Regions from separate parts of the Homo sapiens genome. Here all the other regions are linked to region 1. The links are contacts of gene promoters, found by promoter capture Hi-C in blood cells and fetal thymus (Javierre and others, 2016). All regions are on one chromosome and are shown on one strand. The core of a region is centred on a gene start or on the middle of the fragment in contact, and the rest is flanking DNA. Distances in the headings are between cores, read along the strand shown. Region 1 holds the start of AGFG1 (ArfGAP with FG repeats 1). Region 2 has its middle 26 kb from the start of DAW1. Region 3 has its middle 12 kb from the start of CCL20. Region 4 has its middle 8.7 kb from the start of CCL20.

The links. The method cuts DNA at HindIII sites, captures the fragments that hold promoters and counts their contacts. A CHiCAGO score of 5 or more calls a contact.
Region 2: a fragment that was not itself captured here is called in contact with the fragment with the promoter of AGFG1 in region 1 in 1 of 17 cell types (M2 macrophages); the score reaches 5.4 in M2 macrophages.
Region 3: a contact is called between a fragment that was not itself captured here and the fragment with the promoter of AGFG1 in region 1, in 1 of 17 cell types (M1 macrophages). The highest score is 5.4, in M1 macrophages.
Region 4: a fragment that was not itself captured here is called in contact with the fragment with the promoter of AGFG1 in region 1 in 2 of 17 cell types (M2 macrophages and monocytes); the score reaches 6.8 in M2 macrophages.

Annotation. Positions count from the first base shown.
Region 1 is chr2:227,470,777-227,473,476 of GRCh38, forward strand. It overlaps AGFG1 (ArfGAP with FG repeats 1), which reads left to right and starts at 1,380. Exons shown (of 13, transcript NM_004504.5): 1 at 1,380-1,812. The coding sequence starts at 1,646. It overlaps MIR5703 (microRNA 5703), which reads left to right and starts at 1,356; the gene lies at 1,356-1,411. LOC124907994 (a long non-coding RNA gene) reads right to left here and starts at 1,323. Exons shown (of 2, transcript XR_007088114.1): 1 at 384-1,323; 2 at 12-213. RefSeq lists an enhancer at 293-1,256 and a silencer at 1,369-2,088. The HindIII fragment of the contact is 6,204 bases long and covers 1-2,700 here.
Region 2 is chr2:227,844,527-227,847,226 of GRCh38, forward strand. No RefSeq gene overlaps it. Among named protein-coding and RNA genes, the nearest start is that of DAW1, 26 kb to the right of the region's middle. The HindIII fragment of the contact is 8,455 bases long and covers 1-2,700 here.
Region 3 is chr2:227,800,590-227,803,289 of GRCh38, forward strand. It overlaps the pseudogene LOC100533842. Among named protein-coding and RNA genes, the nearest start is that of CCL20, 12 kb to the right of the region's middle. The HindIII fragment of the contact is 5,314 bases long and covers 1-2,700 here.
Region 4 is chr2:227,821,152-227,823,851 of GRCh38, forward strand. No RefSeq gene overlaps it. Among named protein-coding and RNA genes, the nearest start is that of CCL20, 8.7 kb to the left of the region's middle. The HindIII fragment of the contact is 2,307 bases long and covers 167-2,473 here.

The DNA.
Region 1 (2,700 bases), core at 130-2,629:
ATTGGCCAATCTATCTGTCCATTTCTTTTAATATTAAAAACATTAATTATTATTAGTAGTATTATATTAATATGAAGTCTCACTTTGTTGATTCACCCAATCCCTTTCATGAGAGATGTGGAGGTTGGTCTTGGCTGTTAGGAAACGTAGATTCTAATCCATTCAACAGCCCAGTGATTTGAGAACTTCAGCTCTCTGGGTCTCCCTGTACTCCTTTGGAAAACGAGAGACGAAGTTGATTGTTGCAGTGGGGATTTGGGTCCTGCAGTCTGGCTGTCTGGGTTGGAATTGAGCTTCGCCATAGGTACCCTTGGGTAAATTTACTTAATCCCTCAGGGTTTCATCTTCCTGTTTTGTAAAATGTAAATAACAATAACGCTCACCTCGAAGGGTTGTTGTGAAGATTACATGAACGATTTCATGTATTCATTCCGTCAACATTGAACACCTAGTCTCCAGCTCTGCGAGGGGAATGGGGTGGAGTGGCACAGAAAATACGGGGGCCAGGCTGTTTAGCGCCTAAAGGGAGAGTCCAGATCACCCATGGTAAACACGAAATAAGATGCAGTATTTCAAATAGCTAGAACTGAGACGAAAATACAACGCAGCAATTTGATGGAGAGCAACTTCGAGAAAGGTGAGCTGCAACATTAACTCGGCTGATCTGGGACAGTCTGGCGGGGGAGGTGACATCTGAGCCCCACCTGACTTAGAGGATGTCAGCTATGGATGATCCGGGTTTCCACACGCAGCAGTTCTCAAGCCAGGTGACTGCACCGCCCTAAAGTTCCCTCCACTTTTGGCAATGTCTGGGGATTTTTGGTTGCCAGCAATGGGAATTGGGGGGTTTGTTCTTGTATCTAGTGGGTATAGGCTAGGAACGCCGCCCAGTATCCTACAGTGCACAGGACACCCCAAGCCCCCCCAAATTAGCTGGCCCAAAGATAAAGAGAGAAGAGCAAGGGCAAAGGTCCTGCAGGAGTCAGAAAGGAGCTTGCTGTGTTCAGAAAACTCAAAATCCAGTGTGGCTGAGTGAGGACGACGAAGAATGAGGTAGACTGGGCTAGACTATGGAGCACTTTTTACGGCACGGTGAGGAATTTGGAATTATACTCAAAGCAGTGGAAAGCCCTTGAAGAGTTTTAAACAGAAGGGGAAGGTAACCCATGTGAAACGCTTTGCATATATAAGCGCTCAATAAATACTGTCTATTATTAATATTATTATCACCATTGTGTCTACCCTACTTGGCTCCAGACCCGGCCCATGCCTCAGCGAGGCCGCAGTGACTCCTCCTGGCCAGCAGAGGGCGCCAGCGGACACTTGGCTACCGGCCGCCCAGGGCGGGCCTCCTCTTGCCGTCCCCTTCCTCGTCTTTTCCCCTCAGGAGAAGTCGGGAAGGTGGCGGCGGCGGCGGCGGTTGTCCCGGCTGTGCCGGTTGGTGTGGCCCGTCAGCCCGCGTACCACAGCGCCCGGGCCGCGTCGAGCCCAGTACAGCCAAGCCGCTGCGGCCGGGTCCGGCGCGGGCGGCGCGCGCAGACGGAGGGCGGCGGCCGCGGCCAGGGCGGCCCGTGGGACCGCGGGCCCCCGGCGCAGCGCTGCCCGGCTCCCGGCCCTGCCGGCCTCCTCCCTTGGCGCCGCGGCCATGGCGGCCAGCGCGAAGCGGAAGCAGGAGGAGAAGCACCTGAAGATGCTGCGGGACATGACCGGCCTCCCGCACAACCGAAAGTGCTTCGACTGCGACCAGCGCGGCCCCACCTACGTTAACATGACGGTCGGCTCCTTCGTGTGTACCTCCTGCTCCGGCAGCCTGTGAGTGCGGGGCGGCCGGGCGGGTGTCGGGCCCTTCCCGGGAGGTGGGGGAGCGGGCGGCGGGACCGGGACCCTTCCGGGGCTGGGAAAGAGCCGGGTGCCGTGGGAGGCGGTCGGGGGCGGCCGTTGGGCGCCGGCTGGCGGGCGCGGCGTGGGAGGCTGCGGGCTGGATGCGCAGGGCCCGGGCAGCCGGGCTGGGGATGCGTTTTCGGTTTTGCCGGGCGAGGGTTTACGTTCTGGGCAGCCTTCGTGGGTGGGACGTGGGCGGGGTTGGGGTCAGGGAGGGGGCGACCGGGGCGAGCGTCCCTGGTCTCCGTCGAGCCTGCGGCCGCCGCCCTCGCTCTCCAGCTACCCGGGGCGCCGGGCTGTGGGGGGTGGGGGAAGACGCTAGGAGGCCGGGGGGGAGGTCCATGCGGGTCCTTTGTGTGCCCCGCCTCTCAGCGGCCCGGGAGCCGCGGTGCGGAGCGAGGCACCTGCTGGGCGCTCCTGCTGGGGGTCGGGGAGAAGCTGGGGTGGGAGGGAGGGACGCCTGCCTCGCCCGTGCCTTTTTTCTGGGTCGAGAGTACCTACGTAACTGGGAGGAAGCAGGCACTTAGGAATAGTAGCAGGATGAAAGCATCTTGATGGCAGATGTGAATCCCCTGGGAAAAGTTCGAAAGGATTAATTGCGGGAGGGGGAGGCAGAGGAGCAGATTTGAAGCTGTGGGATTTTAGTTTTATGGTCCGAAGAGAGTGTTGAGGAGTTGGGGGAAAGTTTTAATGGCAATAAGGTACCCACTAGGAGCTGTGTGATTCTAAATATGATGGAGTTATCTGTGAGATTTATCTGTATCTCGCTATCAATACCCGAGTGCCCTGGCTGTACACAGAAATGAGGAGAGCTAGCAA
Region 2 (2,700 bases), core at 199-2,698, 370 kb after region 1:
AGGTTCAAGCAATTCTCCTGCCTCAGCCTCTTGAGTAGCTGGGACTATAGGTGCACACCACCATGCCCATGCCCAACTAATTTTAGAGACAAGGTTTCACCATGTTGGCCAGGCTTGTTTGCAGTGGCGTGATCTCAACTGAACCTGGGAGGCAACCTCCGCCTCCCAGGTTCAAGCAATTCTCCTGCCTCAGCCTCCTGAGTAGCTGGGACTACAGGCGCACACCATGCCCATGCCCAACTAATTTTAGAGACAAGGTTTCACCATGTTGCCCAGGCTGGTTTTGAACTCCTGACCACAAGTGATCTACCTGCCTCAGCCTCCCAAAGTGCTGAGATTACAGGTGTGAGCCACTGTGCTTGGCCCTAAAATGCAATCATTTGGAATAAAGTTTTAATCTTTTCTTTGTTCTATTGATTGATGACTATAACGCTCTAACAAGGATTTATCCATCATTTAGGAAATGACTTCATGAAGTTGTTAGGGACTGATAACTGGGTGAGATGAAGCCCAGGGGGGTTCTTTCCTTTCTGTGTGTCAAACATTGTTTTTTGAAGTCTAACAACAATTTACACAAATTTTCTAATGACTAATATTCTCTTTTCTTATAAACTTGTTAAAAATTCTTTATAAAGGGAAACAATTTTCTAATAGACCTGTGTTCTATCTGAAGAAACCTTTCAAATGTACATTGTTTAAGGGAAAAAGTTTTAAAGTTTGAAGAGATTTAAAGATGAGAATTTTAAGCCACCTTATCACAGAGACCCTAACCAAATGGCATTAAAAAAAAAAAGTAGAGCATTACCTCATACACTCAATTAACATCTGAATTAAGGGAAACATTCACTTGTAGGTGGGGAAATTTTTATTAGCAAAACTTCACTGACATTAAAAAAAAATCCTGGAACACGTGTATATAAGTTTCAGCTTTCTGTGCATGAAGCCCTTCACTTCATCTCATTCCTAGTAAATAAATGATCTCCAGAAAAGTATGAAGACACAGTGCTGGGTGTGTCCAAATGTGTCTTCTTTGACATCTTTTAACAAAAATCCATACATAATGACTTGTAATTTTACAAAATTTACTAGGCATCTATTTATGTATTAGAGGTGAGGGTTTAAGGATATGTTCCATAAGAAACATAGCAATATAGGGCAGGGATAGTGACTGACACCTGTAATCCCAGCACTTCGGGAGGCTGAGGTGGGTGGGTCACCTGAGGTCAGGAGTTCAAGACCAGCCTGGCCAATATGGTGAAATCCCGTTTCTACTAAAAATACAAAAAATTAGCTGGGCGTGGTGGCAAGTGCCTGGAATCCCAGGTACTCAGGGCGCTGAGGCAGGAGAATTGCTTGAACCCAGGAGGTAGAGGTTGCGGTGAGCTGAGATTGCACCATTGCACTCGAGCCTGGGCAACAGGAGTGAAACTCCATCTCAAAAAAAAAAAATTTCCAGAGTTGGTGTTGTTCACATGCACTTGACCATAAATCCCCCTAAGATGGATCCTTGAAAAATTTTAGACTTGGACTAAGTCTATAATGATTCATAAACATAAGGGAATTTTATAAAATAACGAATGAGAGCATCTTCTACATGCCAGTCAATCCTGTAGCTCCAGGTATATAGAGACGGAAAATACCATCTCTGCCCATTGGTTAAGCAAGGGTTTTGGCAAGGCTATGGAGCAAAAGGAATTCCCATACATTGCTGGTGAGAAAGAAAACTGTGGTAACCCCATTGAAAAACAGTTTGTCTTAAAAAATCTTTTTGAAGACAGAGTCTCGCTCTGTTCCCAGGCTGGAGTCCAGCAGTGTGATCATAGCTCACTGAAGGCTCAAACTCTTGGGCTCAAATGATCCTCCTACCTTAGACTCCCAAGCAGCTGGGACTATAGGCACATGCCACCACGCCTGATTAATTTTTTATTTTTATTATTTTTAGAGACAGGATCTCACTATGTTGGCCAGGCTGGTCTTGAACTCCTGGGCTGAAGCAGTCCTCTCATTTCGGCCTCCCAAAGTGCTGGGATTACAGGTGTGAGCCACTGTGCCTGGCCCAGTGTGGCGTTTTCTACTAAAGCTGAACACATGTATACTCTGTGAGTCAGCAATTCTTTCTCATACGTGTCCCTGAGTAATGCATGCATACATGTGCCAGGATTCTTGTAAACGAATGTTTTCAGAAGCATTGTTTATTGTAGCTCCAAACTGGGCCATCAACTTTAGAAAGAATAAATAAATTGTGGGGTATCACACACAATGGAAATCTAGACAGAAGAGAAAATAAACTACAGCTGAATGCAGTAACATCCTGGAATCTTAAACATGGCATTGATTGAAAGGAAGACGACAAGAGAGAACACCCACAAGATGACCCTATTTCTATAAAATTCAACACCAGGAAAAATTAAACTTTATTTTTAAGCATGCATACAAAGCTAGTGAAACTATAAAGAAAAGTGAAGAAGTGATTACCAGAAGGGAAAGGACAGTAGTTGTTTCCAGGAGCATGTGAGCAGGGTATGGCTGAAACAAGACACATGAGGTTTCAGGAAGTGCTGATTTGCATGCAGTTTCACAGATTTTCAAAAAGTAATGATTCAATATTCTGTATATTTATTTTATGCATTCTTCCATATGTTGCTGTAACTGAAAAAATTTTTAAAAGATCAAATTTACAATCCCACCTTGAATTTAGAG
Region 3 (2,700 bases), core at 5-2,504, 330 kb after region 1:
ACGCCTGGCTGATTTTTGTAATTTTAGTAGAGATGGGGTTTCACCACTTTGTCCAGGCTGGTCTTGAACTCCTGGCCTCAAGTGATCCGGCAGCCTTGGCCTCCGAAAGTGCTGGAATTACAGATATGAGCCACTGCAGCCTGCCTTTTTCTCTCCGCTTTGGATGCTCTTTCTCCAGATGTCTGCACGGCTCCATCCCTTACTTCATACAGGTCCCTGGTCGATGTTTTCTCCATAGAGAGGTTTTCCTGATCACTTTATCTCAGATGACACCCGTGGACACTCTCTTCCCATTATCCTGCTTAATTTGGCTTCATAACACTTCCACCACATGATATTAACTTACTTATATGTTAATTAGTTAGTTTCTTGTGTGTTTCTTCTACTCTTTCTCATTCTCTCTTTCTTTCTCTCTCTCTCTCTCTCTGATTTGTTACTTTGTCGTCAACCAATGGGCACTCGTCTACTAATAATCTAAGTTGTATGACGGTAGAGACTGTTTTACTTAGCACTTTATTCTTCGTGACATGAACAGTCTCTAACATAAACTAGGTGCATTCCAGCCTGGCCCACGTGGTGAAACCCCGTCTCTACTAAAAATACAAAAATTAGCCTGTGTGGTGGCATGCAACTGTAATCCCAGTTCCTCAGGATGCTGAGGCAGGAGAATTGCTTGAACCTGGGAGGCGGAAGTTGCAGTGAGGGAGGTCATGCTATTGCACTCCAGCCTGGGCGACAGAGTGAGATACCGTCAAAAAAAAAAAAAAAAAAAAATTAGGTGCACAATGGATCTTTATTGAATGAATGAGTGAATTTCTATCCTTCCTCTTCAGTGAACAGTAGGGTTCATGTAAATGAGTCGTTATTTGAGTGATAATAGTTCATGTCCTTTTTCCTCCCTGACCATAGTTTGTACTTTGTGTGTATAGTTGTGTGTGAATGTATGCATGTAAATGTTCTAACATTGAAGACTAAGCAGAGATTATTTTCCATAGCAGAAAAGAAGTGGCCCTAGCAGTTTCATAAATCAGAATTCAATTTAGGGTTCTATGTGAAAAGTTAATTTCATCCCATGGCAGCACAGTGGAAAAAAACAATTTCTACATGTCTGCAAAAAACGTTTTTATTTTCCCAAGATCAAAAACAAGCACTGACAGGCTGGGTGCTGTGGCTCACACCTGTAATGCCCTCACTTTAGGAGGCTGAGTTGGGAGGATTGCTTGAAGCCAGGAGTTGAAGACCAACTTGGCCAAGGTAGCCAGGCCCCATCACTTAAAAACAACAACAACAACAACCAGTGTTAATGGTCTACCTGCTGGGCCCTCCAAAAACTTAGGGACATTATCTGATGTACCTGTGTTTTCACAGTATTTACTATTAAATGAAGGTAAAGAGTGGCTTCTGGTTGGTTAAAAAACAGTTGAGAAGGAGATATTGAAGGTTGTCAATGGGTAATAAAACCTGGTTTTAATACTATCCTGGGACCCTCTGGTGGAGGCAAGGAAGGATTCCTGTGGTCTCTCTGCAGATGTTTTGCTAAATGAAACCCTGCAACCTGGAACTTCAAAAGTATCTCAAGACTGGGCGCAATGGCTTATGCCTGTAATCCTAACACTTTGAGAGGCTGAGGCCAGGGGATTGCTTGAGGCTGGGAGTTCGAAACCAGCGTGGGCAATACAGTGAAACCCCGTCTCTACTAAAAATGCAAAAATTAGCCAGGGGTGGTGGTGTGTGCTTGTAGTCCCAGCTACTGGGGAGGCTGACAAGATCACTTGCACCCAAGAGGTGGAAGTTGCAGTGAGCCAAGATCACACCACTGCACTCCAGCCTGGGCGACAGATTGAGACGCTATCTCAACAACAACAACAACAAAAAAGGTATCTCAGATTATGTAGTCTCAGATGGTATAGCGATGGGAGCGATGGTTAAGGAAAAAATTTTCAGCAGCCCTTCGGCTGTCAACAAGTATAAACAGTCAGGCAAGAAACAAACAAAAAAACAAAAACAAAAAAACAAACACACATTAACAAAACCATTCAAGAGGTGGCCTTCAGCAAAATTAGCAGACTCCAATGTAGAAAACCAGGTCATTTGGGGTGTGTCTGGAGGACAGAGAAAGAAGCCCAGCATTGCAATGGAGGTGATGAGAGCTATAACTGTTCTGTTTCTGGATAAGCCCACCACTGGCTTAGATGTTAGCACATCAAATGCACTTCTTCTCCTGAAGATGACAAGGCAGAGAAGGCCCATCCTCTTCTCCATTCCTTAGCCCTGTTAGGCCATCTTCAAACCTTTTGATAGCCTTACCTTGCTGGCTTCTGGAAGGGTGATGTTCCATGGGTCCTGTATAAAAAACTTTGAAATATTTTGCTCTGCGAGTTACCAGTGTAAATCCTATAAAAACTCTGCTGATTTCTTCACACATGTTAATAGAGGCTCCTCTGCTGTGACCTTAAATAGGAAGCAAGGAGGTGAGAAACCTGGGGAACTTGAAAAGCCTCCCAAACAGGATAAACAATGAATAGAGGAATTAGCTGAATTTTATGTCAATTGTTCTTTCTACAGGGAAACGAAATATGAATGTAATGAACTCTCAGTAGGTGAAAAAAGGAGTGAACTTTCTTTGATCATCAACTCAGGTGGGTGTCCAAATGTTTATTCAAAAATTGGTTTGGTGAGCATCAAGACTCCATTCCTGAA
Region 4 (2,700 bases), core at 70-2,569, 350 kb after region 1:
TCCTTCGGAACAAAATTCACTCAAGAAAGAGCAGGAGTAGGTGGGGAGAATTTTGCAATTTGGGATGGAGGAAGTTGACAGACTTTGAATATGGTGGTCTTGCTTTTCTTGGTGAAAGACTAGTCACCTTTTGAGAGTGATGAGTGAGCTTTGACATGAATGGAGAAGCTTTGAGATAGTCAGTAGAGGACACAGGGGTACACTCAAGGTTGTTCCACAGTGTTGGGGTTCACTGAAGTCGGAGATAACTAAGCTGCTGTGATTTCCATTGGCACACACCAGGTGGCCTGCTGCAGTTTGGGTGTAAGAATAGACAGTGGTGACTAGTTGGACTAGTTTAGGGTCAGGCTTTGCATCTAGGCACAGTGCAAGGACAAGAGGGCAAGAGTCAATGACAGAGGTTCAGAGAGGGGTTAAAGTGCTGAACCATGCAGTCTAGACCAGAGACAGGAGATGAGGTCCAAAGGTATCTGAGACACTGAGAGAGTATGGGGAGGCCCTCAGATAAAAGGCCTCAATGTGGTCAAAGAGCAGGAGAATGGGAGGGCTGGAGGGGCTGGAGCAGCTCCAGGGGCCAAAGTCCAAGTGTGTGACTGTGGGTGTGCAACTCAAGTGGTGGGGTAGCAGGGCGATGACTGGAAGGCTACCAGGATGGATGAGTCATTCCCATTGATTTTCCCTCTACTTTTTCCCTCTTTTTTAAAAAAATATAGAGTTGGGGTCTCACTATGTTGCCCAGGCTGGTCTTGAACTCCTGGGCTCAAGCATCCTCCTGCCTCAGCCTCCCAAAGAGCTGGGATTACAGGCATAAGCCACCATGCCCTGCTTCCCTCCACTTTTTATTATGGAAAGTACAAAAGTGGAGAGAATCATATAAAAATCCCCCTTGTATCCACCATCTGGATTCAACTGACTAATGGCCAATCTTGTTACATCTACACCACCCAACTCACTTCTTCCCATCTATCCCCCTGGATTACTTTGAAGCAATTTCTAGACATTAAATTATTTTGTTTATAAGTACTTCTCCCTCTCTCTATATATGTACATATATATATATATATATATATATATATATATATATATATATGAACTTTTAAAAACATACAATTTCCCTCACATGGATTTAAAAATCAACACTAATTCTCTAATATCACCCAATGTCCAGTGTTCAAATTTTCTTGCTTGCTTTAAAAAAAATTGTTTTAAAAAACATTATTTGCATCCATCTTTTCTTTAAATGAAGATATAAAGATGTAGATGAAGGTGTAAATGAAGATCCGAAAGAGGTCCACACACTTCATTTGTTTGGCTTGTTTTTTTTTTTTTTGCTTTTAATCTGAGAGCTCCTCACCACCAGCCCCCATCTCCTTTCCTTTTCCTTTGAAATTTATGCTTTGGAGAAACCAAGACATTTGTTCTGTGGTTTCCCACCTTGTGGGTTTTGTTAATTGCATTCCTGTGGTGTTATTTAGCATGTTCTTTGACCCTACTTAGAAATAGAGGCTGGGTTGGATTGGAATTTACTATGCAAGGGGACAAGGCTACTGAATAAGTGGCATTATGCCACATGGGTACAAAGTGGTCCACACTGATGTCAACAGGAATGAAAGGGAACACTGAGCTGAAGAACTGATCAAGGCCATTAACTGACAGCCAGCGGGAGGGGAAGTGGATGGTCTAATGACATCCATATGCTTCAAAGAAGATGATGGGAAAGGTGTGTAGGAATGAGAAAGTGCCATCATGGAAGCACAAGAATACTGGTCTCTACCCACTCCTGGCCCTGTGGTGGGAGAGGAGTGAGAGAGGAGCCCCTTCATGTTGAGAAGACCCCAGGGAGAAGTAGTGTTCTTGCCATAAAATCTGATTTCAGATGAAGCCAGGAGATGGAGAAGTGGAAGATGGAAGGACAGAGAAGTTGCTTTACAACAGAAAAAAGTTTCCACTGAAGGTCATGGGGGGCATTGTGGAGTTCAGCTGGAGGCACAAAGGAGAATTGGGACGGAAGCACTAGCAGTATGAGAAAGAAAAGATGAATACAAAGATTTGGGTAGTAATCATGTCATTAATAATATTTAGATTATTTAAGCATTTGTATGTTAATATCATCTGCTAAGATTGCCAATGTACCTCATTGGAATATGAGCTCTGAACTCTATTTTTATGCCTGTTCTTGGGTAAAGAAACTGAGGCTCAGGAGAGTTAAGAAACTTACTCAAGGTCACACAGTCTTTAGAAATACAATGGAGTCTAGAGTTGGTCTCAGGGCTCCCTCCTGGCCTCTGGCATAAGATATTTTTGTGTCAAGGAGACGGCAGATGCTCAGTCTTGGGGCTGTTTATTTGCAATCTTCTTGTACATCTGTTTGCTCTGCTGTTCTAGAAGTTACCATCAAAGTATTAGAGCATTTTAGACTTTTTTTTTGGATTAAAAAGGCTTCCAAATAAAAAGTTTGTTTCTCCAAGGAGTAAGCTTCAATTGTGATGTGGACACCTTCTTCCCTAGCAGTGCCAGACATATATCACACTGTTGTACTTTTCTTTCTTGCTACATCTCTTCACAGTTTATTGGATAAAAATAATGTTTTCCACTCACTCACTCATTTATTCATTCAACCAAGAGATGTTTATTGAACACTTACTCTGTGCCAGGTCCTGAGGCGGTCATTGGGGATAAACAAGACAACCTTGCGGCTTT